2 separate regions of the Homo sapiens genome follow, and region 2 is linked to region 1. Evidence: promoter capture Hi-C in 16 types of primary human blood cells and fetal thymus (Javierre and others, 2016). All regions are on one chromosome and are shown on one strand. Each heading gives the region's core, a stretch centred on a gene start or on the middle of the fragment in contact. The rest is flanking DNA. Distances are from core to core; before and after follow the strand shown. Region 1 holds the start of DDX3X (DEAD-box helicase 3 X-linked). Region 2 overlaps LOC105373188 (a long non-coding RNA gene).

Evidence for each region. Contacts are between HindIII fragments. The CHiCAGO score rates a contact against its expected background, and 5 or more counts as called.
Region 2: a contact is called between a fragment that was not itself captured here and the fragment with the promoter of DDX3X in region 1, in 1 of 17 cell types (fetal thymus). The highest score is 6.4, in fetal thymus.

What each region holds. Positions count from the first base shown.
Region 1 is chrX:41,330,510-41,335,585 of GRCh38, forward strand. It overlaps DDX3X (DEAD-box helicase 3 X-linked), which reads left to right and starts at 3,653. Exons shown (of 17, transcript NM_001356.5): 1 at 3,653-3,788. The coding sequence starts at 3,744. RefSeq lists a silencer at 2,474-2,963 and an enhancer at 3,054-3,283. The HindIII fragment of the contact is 5,677 bases long and covers 882-5,076 here.
Region 2 is chrX:42,942,643-42,947,649 of GRCh38, forward strand. It overlaps LOC105373188 (a long non-coding RNA gene), which reads left to right. Exons shown (of 5, transcript XR_949037.3): 5 at 1,898-2,414. Among named protein-coding and RNA genes, the nearest start is that of PPP1R2C, 170 kb to the left of the region's middle. RefSeq lists a silencer at 1,866-1,925. The HindIII fragment of the contact is 1,305 bases long and covers 705-2,009 here.

The DNA of each region.
Region 1 (5,076 bases), core at 2,403-4,902:
CAGCTCACTGCAAACTCCACCTCCTGGACTCAAGCGATTCTCCCACCTCAGCCTCTGGAGTAGCTGGGATTACAGGCGCGCGCCACCAAGCCGTAACTCCTGGAATCAAGTGATCCCGCGTGCCTAGGCCTCCCAAAGTGCTGGGATTACAGGCATTATCCACCACGCCCTGCCTCGCAGAGCACTTTCAATTCATGCACAAGCCCTTGAATCCCAAACACTCTTGGAGGCAGAGACTACTTTTATTCCAACTTTATAGATAAGGAAGCCAGGGCACTGTCAAGGGAGTTGCCTGGTGCCTGTAAGCAGGGAGCTGAACTGGTAGTTAGAGGAATTGCAATTCCCAGGCTCTGGTTCACTGCGCTACCTCCAGGAATGGGGGTGGAAGTGGAGGGAGGGGGCGGTGTTGCAGGAAGTACATTTGCTTCAATATGAACAGTTAAAATGCCTGGAAACATTAAGAAAGGGAGCGTGCAAAAAAAAATTTCCCTGGTTTCAGCCATTTCTTTCTTTTTTTTTTTTGGGGGGGGGCGGAGTCTTGCTCTGTCGCCCAGGCTAATTTTTGTATTTTTTTTAGAGACGGGGTGTCACGGTGTTAGCCAGGATGGTCTCAGTCTCCTGACCTCGTGATCCGCCCGCCTCGGCCTCCCAAAGTGCTGGGATTGCAGGCGTGAGCCACCGCGGCCGGCCTGGTTTCAGCCATTTCTAACCCTTTTTTAGGTCACTTCAAATAAAATTTGCAAATAACTGCCATGTGGAGAAAATATGCAAATGTTGCTAAACGGAAAAGTCATTCGGAGTGCTGTGAAAGTTGGCTCATTTATTTAGCTGCCTCAAGTGTGCACATCATTCTTTTTCAAAGTGAATGTGTTTAAAGACAAAGCTTTGTATGTTTTCCCGCTTCCTCTCCAATTGGATATTCCAATTATAACGTATTGATTAACAAAATACCCTGGTGGTTTGAACCAAGTATGCCTATGAGCAGGGGTTAATTGAAAATAGGGAACTGCTGTATATTTCAATTCTTTTAGGTACTCCCATGGCGGTACCCTGTACTCGGCTCTACTCAAAAGTAAAACAAAGCCCAGAACCAGGGTAGTCAGTGCATCCCATTGTTGCTATATGCAGTTTGAAGAGCTGTCGGAACTCACAGTTTTCGAACCTGACTCATGTTTACCCTGGTTCATAGGAAAACGAAACTGAAACAAAACCGAGGTCCTTCACCAAAACTCCATGAGAATCCACGAATCTCAGGGCAGGAAGGGACCCTAATATCATTAAACCTAGTGGCTCTCCAAGGGGCATTGTAGAAATCTGTGTATTTCTGGTTGTCACAATGACTGGCGAGAGCTACTGGCATTTAGTGGGCAGGAGCCAGGCACGCTAGGATGTTCTATGATGCTGGTCAGTCCCACAGAGCGAATAATTGAATCACTGGACACATGTCGGTGAAAAACTAGTTCATTATCATCTAAGCCTAGAACTAACACTGTTTTACATATGAACACAAAGTATCTTTGCCCAGTTTCCATATATCCTGAATTTTCCACAAATGCAGGTACTGTTTCAATTGAAGGAAGATTGTACTGTTTTATTTAAAAATTATTAATAGTTCATCATTTTGGAAAATGAGGTTCCTAGTAGCAATGCTGCTCATGGAACTTGAGTTGTGAAATCAACACACCTTTCCAGTTTGCATTTGTGGCTCTACTGGGCAAGTGTCTTCCCACCAGTTAGTGTAGCTGTGCGGCGGCATTTACATATTATAATACATTGTTTTATTATAATCATTTTGCTTTCGTTTGTTGACAGATCATGTTTTTTGAAATTGTGTTTGTAGGTTTACATAAACAATTTAGGTTTTGTTATTTCAGTATAGGTAAAGGGGGCGTTAGAAAATACTCGTTATGAAAAGGAGTTGGGTCTTTCACAGGGTTATGGAATGTAGCAGACTCCTTTTATAGATGAGCAAATTGAGACCCAAAGCCGTTAAACAACTTGCCCCCGACAGTGTGATATTCTCTCCCTATCTCGTTCGAATTTCCGTCTCGATTTTAAAAATTGAGAAGGGAGAGAAGTTATGTGTATAGTAAATTATGTGATGAGCACGAACTATTTGAATTCTGGCAGCAGAAGACCTTTTGTGGGGGTGGTGGAAACCACTGCGTTTTATTTAATTTCGTAGGGCTGAGGGTCAGAAGAGAGGGGAAAGCGGTCATAAGAAACTACGGATGTGCGGGCGCCGGCTCAAAGCCGGGAATCCACTAGTAAACACCTTCTTCTATTTAAGGGCCTGCGGCACCGAAGCCGGGACTTGGGGTGGCCTGCCTAGGAGGGAACCACAGGAAGAGGTTCCACCGACGGTAGAAACCCGGTTCCTCCTGTTCCTCATCCACCGCAGCGGCCTGAGAGTCACCCCGAGCCCAGGCCGGTAACCCCGCTGCAGCCCCTCCGGCAGGCCCAGGTTGCACCGGCTACAAACATTCCCGACACCCTTGGGCCCTAGAAGAGCCGTTCGCCACCCGCGGGGTCCCCGCAACGCCGGTGGTCACCGGCCCTAAGCCGCTGGGCGCCCCGCGGGAGGAAACTAGGGGCAAATGTAGCCCGCATTCCTGCGGAGAGCCGGGGTCCCGGGAGGGCGCGCCAGCGGCGGTTCCGGATCAGCGCGTGTCTGTCTCATTGTTCCCTCACCGCGGGGGGCGGGGGCGGAGGCGCGCGCGCACACGTCGGGGGGTTGGCCAGGAGGGGCCATTGTGTGTTTCTAGGCGGCGCCCCCGCTGCCTAGGCAACCGCGCAGGAAGGTGTCCGGCCACCTGCGCGCGCCGCCGGCTCCCCTCCATTTCCCCCCGACTCCCGCCCCGGTCACCATCCTACCCTCCTCCCTCCTCCTTTCCCCTTACTCCGCTCCCCTCTTTTCCCTCCCTCTCCTCCCCTTCCCTCTGTTCTCTCCTCCTCTTCCCCTCCCCTCCCCCGTCCGGAGCACTCTATATTCAAGCCACCGTTTCCTGCTTCACAAAATGGCCACCGCACGCGACACCTACGGTCACGTGGCCTGCCGCCCTCTCAGTTTCGGGAATCTGCCTAGCTCCCACTAAGGGGAGGCTACCCGCGGAAGAGCGAGGGCAGATTAGACCGGAGAAATCCCACCACATCTCCAAGCCCGGGAACTGAGAGAGGAAGAAGAGTGAAGGCCAGTGTTAGGAAAAAAAAAACAAAAACAAAAAAAACGAAAAACGAAAGCTGAGTGCATAGAGTTGGAAAGGGGAGCGAATGCGTAAGGTTGGAAAGGGGGGCGAAGAGGCCTAGGTTAACATTTTCAGGCGTCTTAGCCGGTGGAAAGCGGGAGACGCAAGTTCTCGCGAGATCTCGAGAACTCCGAGGCTGAGACTAGGGTTTTAGCGGAGAGCACGGGAAGTGTAGCTCGAGAGAACTGGGACAGCATTTCGCACCCTAAGCTCCAAGGCAGGACTGCTAGGGGCGACAGGACTAAGTAGGAAATCCCTTGAGCTTAGACCTGAGGGAGCGCGCAGTAGCCGGGCAGAAGTCGCCGCGACAGGGAATTGCGGTGTGAGAGGGAGGGCACACGTTGTACGTGCTGACGTAGCCGGCTTTCCAGCGGGTATATTAGATCCGTGGCCGCGCGGTGCGCTCCAGAGCCGCAGTTCTCCCGTGAGAGGGCCTTCGCGGTGGAACAAACACTCGCTTAGCAGCGGAAGACTCCGAGTTCTCGGTACTCTTCAGGGATGAGTCATGTGGCAGTGGAAAATGCGCTCGGGCTGGACCAGCAGGTGAGCCGCAAGAACCCCACCGGGCTGGCTGCTGCGTGAATTCCTCCCCTGACCTAACCTGGCTAATGGCGCAGCGCTAACCGGCACCCTTACTTTTCATTTTCTGGGTGCCCCGGGCTGGCGGGTGTGAGTGCCCCGGGGCTATAGAGGGATAGGAATGTTGGTTGGGGCTGTCGCCCGGGCCCGGTCTCGGCCCGCTGTATTGTCCCCGGGACGAGCACAATGGCGGCTTTTGTGTGTGCGTGCGCAGGCGGGCGGAGGGGGAGGAAGTGCGCGCGCTCTCGCGGGGACGCGCATGCGCGAATCCCGACTGATTAGTGACCTGGGGGGGTTTGCGGGAGTGCGCAGCGCGGCGGGACGCGACTGGAGGCCCTTTTGGCTTGGAGGGCTTCGGCCTTCACGGCTGGCGCAGCCTGGATTCCCGTCCGGAGGACCTGGCGGCACCCGGTGTTTGCGTGCCTGCGAGCAAGGGGTAGAACGCGGCCCAGGAATGTGGGAGGGGGCGGCCTTCGCTCGGGGTAATGGCGGCGGCCTCTTTTGTGTGGTGCTGGGCGGCGCTGTGGCTCACCTCCGGGAGACGGCGGGTCTCGGGCGGGCGAAGGCCTGGAAAGGAGGATGGAATGGGTTTCTTGTTTTTTCCCGGGTTCCTTCCGCTGGCTTTTTCGCTTCAGCCCAGGTTCCGCAGGGTCCGGGGGCCCTGCGCCGCAGCCGGGGAGGCTGCGTTTCCGGAGTGGAAAGTTTTGTGACGCAGAAGATTGGGGAGGAGTGGGGGAGGGGTGGGGGCGGGGAGGGGAGGCAGGAATTGGCCGCTGCGCGCTGGGCCCTGGAGATAGAGGTTGGACGTGGCGGGGAGGTTAGGGAGCCAGCGAGGCCCTTTCTCCTCCTTGCTTGCCCCAGATTGTCCCTGTGTGGTATGTTAGCCGGGAGTCCCGCGTTGTTTTTCTGGGGTGGAGGGGTCATCGCGGGTTGTGGTAGTGTCTTCGTGTTAGTGACTGTGATCCAGGAATCCGCCATTGGAAAAACACCCGGCTTAGGGGGGAAGTAAACAGTTTTGTTGTTGACTTGTTGCTATCTGTGGAGTAGAATCTTGCAATGGGTCCCAGGCCCCCGGGTTTTTTCTCTTAGCCAGAATCCCCTCTTCTAAGGGTTTAGGGGCAGAGGAGAGAAAGATGTGTGATTTGAGAGGAGAAGGTTATGGACTTTGGTGGCAGGAAGTCTGCATCCCACCGCAACAGTGGCACCAGGCTTCAGATAAGCTCTTGTGTGGGTTATGCGGAGCTTTTAAATA
Region 2 (5,007 bases), core at 107-2,606, 1.6 Mb after region 1:
GCCCTCCACAGAAACTAAGCCTGTTGGCACCTTGATCTTGAACTTCAATCCTCCAAAATTGTAAGAAAATAATTTTTTTGTTATTTAAGCCACCCTGCCCATGGTATTTTGTTATGGCACGCCAAGCTGATGAATACAGGCCCATATCAACTAATTCTGCCCAATCCAACTTCATTTTCCTTTCACTTTGACTCCATATCTTTAAAATTGATTCCTATGCATATCCCCCAGGTTTCTGACTATATAAAGTGATAAAACTGTACAATGCTTTTGGTATGCATAGCAGCTCCTCATGGGTTACACTTTGTACTTTACCCCTCTGAGCCCGCTGGGACTTCAGGTAAGTTATAGGTTTAGAAGCAAAGAGAGGTGGTGGGGGTAGGTCTTAAAGAGGATCAGCAGTGCCTTACCAGTCAACTACCTCAGGAAAGGCAGGCAAAGGAGGGCCAATCTTCTCAAGACAGGAGTAGAAAGGCTGCTTCTACTGGCAAAAAAGGCTCAGCAGAACTCAGGGGTTAGAGTCCCCAGCTTTGTGAGAATCTGCCCATAGGATCCCATTCCAGCTTTATATTCATACAGAGGCTACAAGGCTGAGAAATCACTTTGCATCATTCAGCCACTGGCAGGGCGGAGACTCTGAATTTTGGTTTTCAGGGCCCTGTGGCTATGGAAGGAAGATAAGAATTTCTTTCAGGGCAAACAGAAGCTTTCAGTTTCTTTATGTGGACTTTGAGCTGATAATTCAAATTCCCGAGCCTATCCTTTCCCTACTTTCTCCCACGCAGTTAGGAGCAAACAGCCAACCTCATTGTACTCCTTGGTTTGACTAAAATGTGCTAAGGCATCAAATACATGGTCACCCAGAACCTTGTCTTCTGTAAGTGTTTGATTAGGAGTAACTGTAAGGGATAATTGGAAGGATGGCCGAGAAAGGAATGAGGCCAATAGACCCAAGTTCAGGCAAGCTGATTTATTGTCAGTCCTGCCAGGCCACCTCTTGACAAAAGCAGAGGAGGCAGCCCCACTTACAGGCTATAGCAAGGTTTTATAGGGTGTAGAACTGGGTCAAGGTGAAGGAAAAAGAAAAGAGACGGGGCGGGGGGGGGGTCCTTTGTGCCAGGTGTCTGACCACTTCCTGGAGATGTTTTTCTTGCCAGTTCTGTTGTGCAAGGTAGATGTCTTAACCACATCCTGGAGCAGCTGGCCTCTGGTCAAACAGTTACAGGAGGGTTTGGGGTAGGGTGTTTTGCTTTTGGCCTTTGGGGCTTAGATCTATGGGAGGGGGAAACAGTCCAGTTGGGTGGACCCTAACAGTAACCAGTGGGGATATTTTGTGTATCTCTATTGCCACATCATGCCATTGACTACCAGTGCCCTTCTTACTGCTAGAAGTAGACTCATTAGTGCTTTTAAATTTAATCATATTAGAGAAGACTCAAAACCAAGTCAGAGAATTCATACTTAAGATTCTATCCCCCTGGAACCACTCTTGGTATTAAAATCTGTATCAGTTAGCATTTAATCAGAGAAGCAAAAACTAGTATCTATCTAGATCTCTATATTTATATCAGATATTCTGCAGAGTGGCATTATTGACTTTTGGGCTGGATAATTCTTTGTTGGGGTGTGAGGGTGGGGGACAGTCCTGTGAATTGTGGGTTTATCTATGGCCTCTACTCACTATATGCCAGTAGCACAACTCTCTACCCTCCACCAAGTTGTAACAACCAAAAACGTATGCAGACACTGCCAAATGTTCCCTGAGGGTGAAAATTGCCTCCAGCTGAGAACTACTGGTATCTCTATATTATCTATATTTTTATTTATAGCTATATGTATCTCTTCCTCTATCTGAGAGAGAAATTGGTTATACGGAATTGGCCTTATGCAATTGTAGGAGCTGGCTAAGCAGTCTCTGTATGGCTGTTTTCTCACACATGATGCTGAGGCTTCAAGATCACAGGGATGGCAGTCAGAAAAGGAAAAACACAAGCAGGCTGGAACCAACAAGCTTAAGCTGGAACTCCGTGGAGAAGGACTAAAACCTGTGTTCATTCTTGTTGCCTCTAACCTTGGTAATGAGGGTATCCAGCAGAAGTGGGGCCCTTTGTCACAAAGTGAAACACACACCCCTGGTCTAGGAGTCTGAGAAGCTGAAAGAATATCAGCGGCAGGTAGAGCAGCCACAGAATCAGATGCTGCTTCACACCAGTAGGGTGAATCTACAGATCAGCAACAATATGTGTGAGCCACAAAATGGCCACTGCTTCTCTTTCAGCCTCTAAATGTCTCAAGAATCTTCCCTATGTCTTACCTCAACTCAAAACAAACAAGAGAAAAAATTCTGGGAAATGCAATTCAGCCTAGACAAGGTGACATATGAGAAAGCCATTACAAGATAGTTTGCTCAAAGTAGGATCCAAATTATGTCCATACTCAAATGAAAATATTATCCAAGCTGGGAGAATGTGTGGTTCCAAAGACTGACTACAAAATAAATTATGAGCTTAAATGGATTAAAATCATATTAAATATGTAGAAACTTCAAAACTCCACAAATCCAAAGTATGTCATGTACGGATAGAAATTTTTTCTTCACTGATGAGATAGAAAAAGAATTTGTCTGGCACAATGTATGACCCTTTGTCTATTCAAAAATGATCACAGCTAATGCAAAACATTTAACAGAAAGATAAATTTAATGTTAACAAGCACATTTGATAATTGTCCCAGGAAAGATTATAGGTAACTGGATGGAAGTATTTTTCAAGTAATCTAGGATAGTCAACATTTTAAATGCACCACAGAGACATTTATCTCAGCAATTCAGCAAAGCAGCATCAACTCTTGAGCCAGAATAAAAGCTTTCAGCTTCTCTTTTGAGAAGATTCTGAGCATTTACTTCATTTATAGTAAGGCTCTCTCAAATTTTTCTCTAAGATTTCCCAGAACCTTTCTGAGGCTTCATGCAATTTATATAAGTCACTTAACAAGCACTTGTTGAGCTGTTACCATGTGTCTGGCACTCTTCTAGGTGCTCTCTATAGACAAAGAATAAAATAGACAATCTATTCTCAAGAAACAAGCCTTCAGTGAATCAATAAACAAATATATATACACACATATAGTTGTGACAAGTGTTAGGAGGAAAAATATGACTGGGCAAAAGGATGGAGAGTTATACAGAGGAATGCTCATGCCTTTTTATATCAAGTATTCAGGTCTTTATACTTTATATCAAGTATTTACTTCAAGATACTTTATATCAAGTATTCAAAGTCCACTAAAGATTATCTGTAAGTAGAGATTTGAATCAAATGACGAAGTAAGTGAGTGAGGATTTCTAGAGGGGAAATCCTAGCATTCTAGGAGAGGGAATCATAAATGCAAAGGCCCAGAAGATGGGAGCTGTTAGCATGTTAGAGGTCCAGCAAGGAGTACCTGGAGTAGAAGGAGCCAGGGAAAGAGAGTTGGGAGGTGAAGTCAAGAGAGATCCAGGGGCCAGACTCAGAGACCATGGTTAAGATTTTCTTCTGAGAGACAAGAGAAGCCACTGGAGGATTTTGAGCAGAGTGGCAAGATGTGAGTTTTGTTTTTAAAGGATCTTTCTGTTTGCTTTCTGGCAAGTTGACATTAAGGGGACAATGGTGGAAACAGGGAGACCAGTGAGGAGGCTATTGCAATAATTCACTATACTAGGGTGGTAGTGATGAAATAAGGTGGGATAGTCAGATTCTGGAATTCTGGGTATATTTTAAAATAGAGATTATGGGATTTGCTTATAGATGCTATGTGGGATGTAAGAGAAAGGGGTCAAATAAATGTAATTATGTTTAAAAACTTCGTATTTAACTTCTCTCTTCCTTTTCTTCAACAGAGTTATCATTTCTCTCTCTCCAAACACTCAGCACCCTACCACTTGCCTCTAGCTGTCTAAAACTCTTACCATTCCCCCTACCCCTATAATGAGACATCCAACCCAACTCTACAACTTCTATTTGTCTATTTTTGCTATAAAAATCCTCCCTTTCTGCCTGTTCCTTATTCAATGCTCACCCCATCACTCCATTCAAAGCCTTTATGCTCTGAGACTAACTTTTTTCGCTCACATCTTAAACAGAAAGTATCTGATGTGAGTAATTCAGATTCGGGTAGAAATGACTAATAATTTAAATTAAAATAGTTTACTTTTCAGGGAGGTATTTTAAAAAGCTTTGAAATCACCCAAAGAAGCCCTTTTCTTGTAAACACGCCTAAGTTCTATGATCACCTACAAATTACACTTACCCTTTTCTTGTGGTAAACACTCCATGAGTTCTATGATCACCTGCAAATTACACTTAGTTGCTGACTGCCCCCCATCCATGCAGGCCTTATGCTGACATTATCGAGGCTCACGCTTTATCGGAAAAGGAAACTACAGGAAATGAATCATGAATCATTATTTTTAAAGAGCAACTCCATCACAGCTTGCTTATCATTATTAATAAATGAAGAAAAGAGCTAAACATGTGAACTTACATCACAAGAAGAAAGATTGAAGTCTCTTAACATACCCGGACAGACTTGTCATAAACTATTGCCTGCTCTGTGGACCCAGCAGACTTTGTCCCAGGCCATTGAATGTTCTGAGCCCATTGAATTCCCCTAAGAATCATTTACTACTCCCCCTAAAATCATCCATGTTTCCCTATCTCCCTTTCCACTAAGAAGAAGGGTAAATAAGCATCTCTACCCAATTGTGTGGTGGGGTAATCTCTCTGTGATTTTTCCCTTCGTGCACATGAATACATTTGTATGCCTTTTCTCTTACTAATCTGCCTTTTCAGTGGGGCTTCAGAAGGTGAATGGGAAGTTTTCCCTTGGTCCCTACAAGGTCTTAGTTACCTGGCCAAACCTAGCAGCAAAAGTTGGGAAATTTTTAGCCAACTTTAGAGAAGAAATGCTAAGTGAATATTATTTTGTTATCAAGGTAGCCCTGATGAAGTAGCTGGGAAAGTTCTTTTA